2 separate regions of the Homo sapiens genome follow, and region 1 is linked to region 2. The links are contacts of gene promoters, found by promoter capture Hi-C in human tissues and cell types (Jung and others, 2019). All regions are on one chromosome and are shown on one strand. Each heading gives the region's core, a stretch centred on a gene start or on the middle of the fragment in contact. The rest is flanking DNA. Distances are from core to core; before and after follow the strand shown. Region 1 overlaps TRIM55 (tripartite motif containing 55). Region 2 holds the start of CRH (corticotropin releasing hormone).

Evidence for each region. Contacts are between HindIII fragments. The study calls those that stand out against the background at their distance.
Region 1: a fragment that was not itself captured here is called in contact with the fragment with the promoter of CRH in region 2 in 2 of the 25 tissues and cell types used here (heart right ventricle and thymus).

What each region holds. Positions count from the first base shown.
Region 1 is chr8:66,128,218-66,132,008 of GRCh38, reverse strand. It overlaps TRIM55 (tripartite motif containing 55), which reads right to left. Exons shown (of 10, transcript NM_184085.2): 2 at 3,533-3,705. Among named protein-coding and RNA genes, the nearest start is that of TRIM55, 3.0 kb to the right of the region's middle. The HindIII fragment of the contact is 3,233 bases long and covers 45-3,277 here.
Region 2 is chr8:66,176,574-66,179,951 of GRCh38, reverse strand. It overlaps CRH (corticotropin releasing hormone), which reads left to right and starts at 1,488. Exons shown (of 2, transcript NM_000756.4): 1 at 1,488-1,659; 2 at 2,461-3,378. The coding sequence starts at 2,475. The coding sequence ends at 3,065. It overlaps LOC112268029 (a long non-coding RNA gene), which reads left to right. Exons shown (of 4, transcript XR_002956713.2): 4 at 1-66. RefSeq lists an enhancer at 2,533-2,602. The HindIII fragment of the contact is 9,798 bases long and covers 1-3,378 here.

The DNA.
Region 1 (3,791 bases), core at 412-2,911, 48 kb after region 2:
TTTATTTATGTATTTATATATGTATGTATGTATTTATGTATTTATTCTGCTGAAATCCCAGTGAAATGAGGATAAGGAAATAAAAGGGCATAAATCAATAAGGACAAAAAGTGAGCACAGATGACAGCAGATGAGAGATGTCAACCAAATGTTGGAAATTAGGAACATCTGGATGAAGGGACATGACCTACTTGAGTTGCATCTTAGTTCTGTTACATTCCTGCAGTGAGAAGCTTACAATAAGCAAGCTGACTTGAGCTATGGAACCCTGGAAAGGCTCTGGAACTGCAGGAGCCAGTAGTCCTGAAGGTGGAAGTAGGCGGTGACAGACTGGGAGAGGCTGAAAAGAGGAGGACTTTGTGCATGTTTTAAGAGATTACTTGAGGATGTGCTCCATAGAAATAAGAGAGTAAGCCACCAAACAAGGAGACCTGGAATCCAGGGAGCAAGGGGTTCAACCCAGGGGGAGAGTAAAAGAATTCCCAAGTAGAGGTAAAGCCCAGCCATGTGAGGGCTCAGTCCTAATTGTCTACAGTGGAAAGTCAATAGAAAATGTCTAAAATTGAAAAATCAAAGAATAGGAGCATACCAGTAGTATGCACATGTCATTGGTGATAAATAGCAGAAAAACAGCTAAAAGAATTAAAAGTGGTTGACTCTGGGGAATGAGGCTTGGGGGTGGGTAAAGAGAGAACAGAGTGGAGACTGCATTTCTCTTCAGAGGCCCAGTAGTAATGAATTCTAAAAGTTGTGTATGTTGATTACTTTAAGGCACTAAAAGCTTTAATAGGGTAGCAGTAATTATAATAATCAACACCTCACCGGATTATTGTGAGAATTAAAGAATTGCACATGATTCATGTGTTAGGCACCCTGAACAGTGTCTGGCATGCAGCACATAGTAGTTTTACTTGTTATATTTTAAAGTTAATTATTATTATATTAATTATTAATATTAGCCAAAATAGTACCTTCTCTTACCATCTCCCACTCCCAACTGTGGCTAGTCTGGCACCATGCAGAATTCTGGATAAGAATGCCAAGTTTTGGCTGGGCGCAGTGGCTCATGCCTGTAATCCTAGCACTTTGGGAAGCCGAGGCGGGTGGATCAAGAGGTCAGGAGATCGAGACTATCCTGGCTAACACGGTGAAACCCCATCTCTACTAAAAATACAAAAAAATTAGCTGGGCGTGGTGGCAGGTGCCTGTAGTCCCAGCTACTTGGGAGGCTGAGACAGGAGAATGGCGTGAACCTGGGAGGCAGAGCTTGTAGTGAGCCAAGATCACGCCACTGCACTCCAGCCTGGGAAACAAAGCAAAACTCCATCTCAAAAAAAAAAAAAAAAAAAGAATGCTAGGTTTTGTGGAGACTTACAGTCTCCAGCCTTTCTGGAGGAGGTCAGAGTTGACTGACAACATCCCAGTCTGTGATTGGTCACCCCCCCCGACCCCCTTCCAATAGCCACAGCTGAACTCTTTTCATTCTGTATATCCAAGGTCATTCCAGTGTTACCTAATGTACCCTGAGGCTCAAGATTCTGGTCTAGTAAGGCTGTCTGCCCCCAGGGGACAACTGCGTTTCCTCCCAGACATGTGGCCAAGTGCTCTGTGCAACTTGTGGTTTTGCTACCAAGTAAAATTGTCCCACAGGAAAGTCTCAAGTTCAAGAAAAAACAGCATAACAAAATCACAGAAAATCACAAAAGCATCCCTAGTTCACTCAACTATGAGCTTTATTGTTGGAAATTTGGTTCATTGCTTTTACGCAATTTACTTCCCAGGCCTGGGTACTATTTTTGGCAGCTGCACCAAGCCAACTTCATAGCTAAGGTGAAGATGTGTTTTGTAGTTTTACCAATACTGCAAGTTTTAACATCTCTTCTCTGGATTTCATAACAAGTATTGCTATTTTTTCATGTCTCAAGTTCCCACTGTGACAAGTAACAAAACATAAATTTATTGCAATAAATAGAACATGAAAGAATATTTGTGGTGTTGCTTAATCAGCTGGGATTTATGGGGCAACTATTCTGTGCAAAGCACTGTACTAGCTCTGAAACTTGTTACGTAAGAATATTTGTGGTATTGCTTAATCAGCTGGGATTTATGGAGCAACTATTCTGTGCAAGACACTGGACTAGCACTGAAACTCTTGTTATATAAACTCTCTTAATATTAGGTTGGTGGCAAAGTAATTGCTGTTTTGGCCATGAAAAGTAATTGCAAAAATCGCAATTACTTTTGCATCAATCTCATAATTAATTGGTTTTTAATTGGCTGGTTAAGTTTTTAAGAGACAAGTGTGTATTTGTATTTTAAAGTAGTGAAATACAATGAGATCAAATCTGTAAAGTAACAGCAACAGCAATAGTACTTTTGTTCTTGTCAAGAGACTTTGGAAGCAAGGGAAACAGCCAGCTGCAATCTCTGCAATATGTCATCAGCAATTCTTCCCCAAACCCATCTAGATCCTGGTACTGTCTAATTTAGTTTTGGATCTTTAGCGGAAATTAATAGCTATAATAATTATAATAATTATGTTAGATTTATAGAACAGCTTTCCTTCCAAGAGCACAAGCCTCTTAGAGCTCTGCAGATGTTCCATAAATACGTGTCCCCTAATGGAATCACAATGAGGCCATTTCTAGATGGTCTCAATATTGCTATCAAGCTTTGTGGACTGGACTGACCTGCACACAATTGAAAAGGGGCTCTTCACACCGTGCCTTCTAGGAATAAGCTTCCCGCAGCATTGTGTCTAGGAAAGGAATTCTATAGCCAATGTGGTTTGGTGAATAAGAAGCCTTTTTTGTTATTTTTTAAAAATGAATGGATAGATATATAATGCTATCACGATGTTATTCACAATCAACAAGTGAATGCTGACTATGCAGTAAATACAGTATAAGGAATAGGGAAACATAACCTGAATTTCACCCTTTTTTTTCCTCATGGCTCTGAAGTTTAAGTCCCTAAAGGCCAGGGTTTTGCCTTGCTTTGTGACTTCCCTTAGAGTAAATACAGTGACAACCTATGTTAGAGGATTTTGTTTTTATTATCATCCAAACAATTTTAAGGCAAGACTGTCTGAACTAGGAACTGGGCTACTTCGGAAGATGCCATTTCTATTAATTTTCTATTAAGTATTTACTAGATTTTTTTTTCTTTGCTTTGTAGGGATCTGGAGCTACAAAGTGCCTGTGAAGTGCAAAATGTGTAAAATGGATGTAATACCAGGCTTTAAGGTGGAGGGGGACAGCAGTATGTCTCTTTCAGCATCACCATCTGGAATGGATTGGTGTTAATGAGTCACTTCATTCTTAAATTGATACAAAAGCATGGGCACCAACTCCCCTCTCTCCTGCTGTGAGCAACTCTCAGTCTCACTGGGAAGGACTGACTTGGAAAACCATTTTTCCATAAAACAGTCTGTGATTGATAAACAAGCATTCAGCGTAGCAACCCATTAAAACAAACAAACAAAAACAAGTTTCAGATGGGCTTGACACATGGAAGAGTGGAAGAGTGTTACCTGGTGGACTCCTGCTTGTAGATGTCAATGATATTTTCCACCAGCAGGTTCCTCTGAAGTCCATATACCCCATGTCTATCCAAAACCACTTCATGTCTACAGGATGGGCAGCGGAATCGGCCCCCTGATGCCATGGTGGTACCTCCTCTTGTGGGCAAATACGGGTTAGAGGCCTGTTCTTGCCAAGTAAGAAAAAAGGAATTGGGTAATGCCACAAGCAGCTTCTCTGAGACTTATTTTCACTCTCTGCTACTACAAA
Region 2 (3,378 bases), core at 239-2,738:
GGTATAGACCCAAAATGGAAGTTGAAATATGCATTGCATCATTTGTCACATTAGCTACAAAGGAAGCAGCAGAAGTAATCAGAAATGAGGAGCAGGAAATTTCCGATAAACAACTCTGATGGTTATCTGGAAGCTGAATTGAATCACAGGCACAAGAACTTGGAATTGCATTTTGAATTGCAGAATTAGAGGTAACTGCCTCCCACCTATATGATAGTGTCAATTAATCAAAAATTGAATATAGTTTTACAGGCTTAGCATTCCATTCCATTCTGCGACATGTCAGAGAGCATTTATTTATTTAACAGGCTGACATGAAGCACATTTGGATTTGGAAAAAGAAATAATTAAAAAGAACCACCCTGGGTGGCCCAGATGTGGATACTATTATGGATGTTGATAGTATTTGGAGGTGAAATGAACGAGTTTTTTTTTACAGACTCAATATTGACCAATGAAAACATGTAACTAATGAATTTAGCCCTGTAGTCAAGCAGTTTAAGCCTTTTTCAACATAGATTAGGAAGTTAGAATGGATGCCTCTCATTGAGTTTGCATTCAGTAGAATAAGTAAAGCTTGTTTAACTCATGCATCTCTCACTGGCCGCCTCTCTCTTTAATTTGGGAATAGAAAAGGGAGTCCACAATTAATTTTAGATTGTGAGAAGAGAGACAAAAAAAGGAGCAGAGAGTTTCTGAGATAACCTAAAATCTTTGCCGCACCCCTTACTAACCCCGGTTTGTGCCCCTTCACTATGGGAGTAGCTCTTGTCATCATCTAAAAAACTTGAACTGCATTTTGAGAGATTTATTGGCCTTGCTTCTGCAGGCTCATAACTCCTTTATGTGCTTGCTCTTGGGAGGAAAAAGCAGATAGACGTTTAAAAGCTGGATGTTCCTGCACACCCCTCTCCTGATGCTTCATTCTTTTCCAGGCAGAAAGATGGTGGGACTCTGTCTCTAGCAAAGGGATATTTCCAGATACTGAGGTGTTGTCAGAGACACCTGGTCAGGGAGGTTAGGAGAAGGGGCATCCAGGTCCACCCCCTCCAACTGGCTGCTGCTTTCCTGGCAGGGCTGCACTGGGACACCTCACTTCCTTCCCACTTCCCCTTCCTCCTCCCATTCGCTGTCTCTTTGCACACCCCTAATATGGCCTTTCATAGTAAGAGGTCAATATGTTTTCACACTTGGGAAATCTCATTCAAGAATTTTTGTCAATGGACAAGTCATAAGAAGCCCTTCCATTTTAGGGCTCGTTGACGTCACCAAGAGGCGATAAATATCTGTTGATATAATTGGATGTGAGATTCAGTGTTGAGATAGCAAAATTCTGCCCCTCGTTCCTTGGCAGGGCCCTATGATTTATGCAGGAGCAGAGGCAGCACGCAATCGAGCTGTCAAGAGAGCGTCAGCTTATTAGGCAAATGCTGCGTGGTTTTTGAAGAGGGTCGACACTATAAAATCCCACTCCAGGCTCTGGAGTGGAGAAACTCAGAGACCAAGTCCATTGAGAGACTGAGGGGAAAGAGAGGAGAGAAAGAAAAAGAGAGTGGGAACAGTAAAGAGAAAGGAAGACAACCTCCAGAGAAAGCCCCCGGAGACGTCTCTCTGCAGAGAGGCGGCAGCACCCGGCTCACCTGCGAAGCGCCTGGGAAGGTAGGGAGCGCCTGGACGGAACACGCCACCAACTTTGCGTTGCCTGAGCTGCCGCGATGTGCGCCGCGGAGCCGGCTGCCCCTGCCTGTGTACGTGTGTATGCATGTGTGTGCGTGCGTGTGTGTGTGTGTATGCATGTGTGTATGCGTATGTGTGTGTGTGTATGCGCGCGTGCGTGCGTGTGTGTGTGCGCGCGTGTTCGCGGACTATTCCTTAAGATTACAATAGTAGCTGGGATGTGGCAAAAGCAAACTTAGACGGCTGCTCTTCGTTACCCGTGCTGCCAGTTGCTCCTTGCTGGCTGTGTAAAGGAGCTCCCCCACCCCCTTCTATCCTAACCCCCGAGATAAGGCAGCAAGGGCAGAAGTGGAGAGGGAGGACCATGAGGCAGTAGTTCTCAATTTGGAAGAAAATGCTGAAATATCCGGAAGGGAGGTAGTCAGCGCGGGTGGGATCTTAAATCTGTGGCTCTTCTCTAGGATCGGGAAAATTAGTTTTGAGGATCGTTAGGAAGAGGACGCAGGGACCGTCCTTTCAGAGTCTAGAAAGAAGGGTCACTCCTGGCCGGTGAGCGCATGAGCTTAGGTGCGGAGCCCTGCAGGCGCCCCCTTTCCCCGCTCCCCAGGCGCTTCAGCACCGCGGACAGCGCCCATCCGAATCACTGAGGCCAAAGCCCAGCACGTCTAAGGCAGTCCCGTAGGAAGACCCCGTGTGCACCTCCCAGCTGAGCGAACTCTAACCAACTCTTTCTTTCTCTCTTCCCCTCTCTCATTCCGCCCTCCGCCCACCTCTGTGCCGCAGCGAGTGCCCCTAACATGCGGCTGCCGCTGCTTGTGTCCGCGGGAGTCCTGCTGGTGGCTCTCCTGCCCTGCCCGCCATGCAGGGCGCTCCTGAGCCGCGGGCCGGTCCCGGGAGCTCGGCAGGCGCCGCAGCACCCTCAGCCCTTGGATTTCTTCCAGCCGCCGCCGCAGTCCGAGCAGCCCCAGCAGCCGCAGGCTCGGCCGGTCCTGCTCCGCATGGGAGAGGAGTACTTCCTCCGCCTGGGGAACCTCAACAAGAGCCCGGCCGCTCCCCTTTCGCCCGCCTCCTCGCTCCTCGCCGGAGGCAGCGGCAGCCGCCCTTCGCCGGAACAGGCGACCGCCAACTTTTTCCGCGTGTTGCTGCAGCAGCTGCTGCTGCCTCGGCGCTCGCTCGACAGCCCCGCGGCTCTCGCGGAGCGCGGCGCTAGGAATGCCCTCGGCGGCCACCAGGAGGCACCGGAGAGAGAAAGGCGGTCCGAGGAGCCTCCCATCTCCCTGGATCTCACCTTCCACCTCCTCCGGGAAGTCTTGGAAATGGCCAGGGCCGAGCAGTTAGCACAGCAAGCTCACAGCAACAGGAAACTCATGGAGATTATTGGGAAATAAAACGGTGCGTTTGGCCAAAAAGAATCTGCATTTAGCACAAAAAAAATTTAAAAAAATACAGTATTCTGTACCATAGCGCTGCTCTTATGCCATTTGTTTATTTTTATATAGCTTGAAACATAGAGGGAGAGAGGGAGAGAGCCTATACCCCTTACTTAGCATGCACAAAGTGTATTCACGTGCAGCAGCAACACAATGTTATTCGTTTTGTCTACGTTTAGTTTCCGTTTCCAGGTGTTTATAGTGGTGTTTTAAAGAGAATGTAGACCTGTGAGAAAACGTTTTGTTTGAAAAAGCAGACAGAAGTCACTCA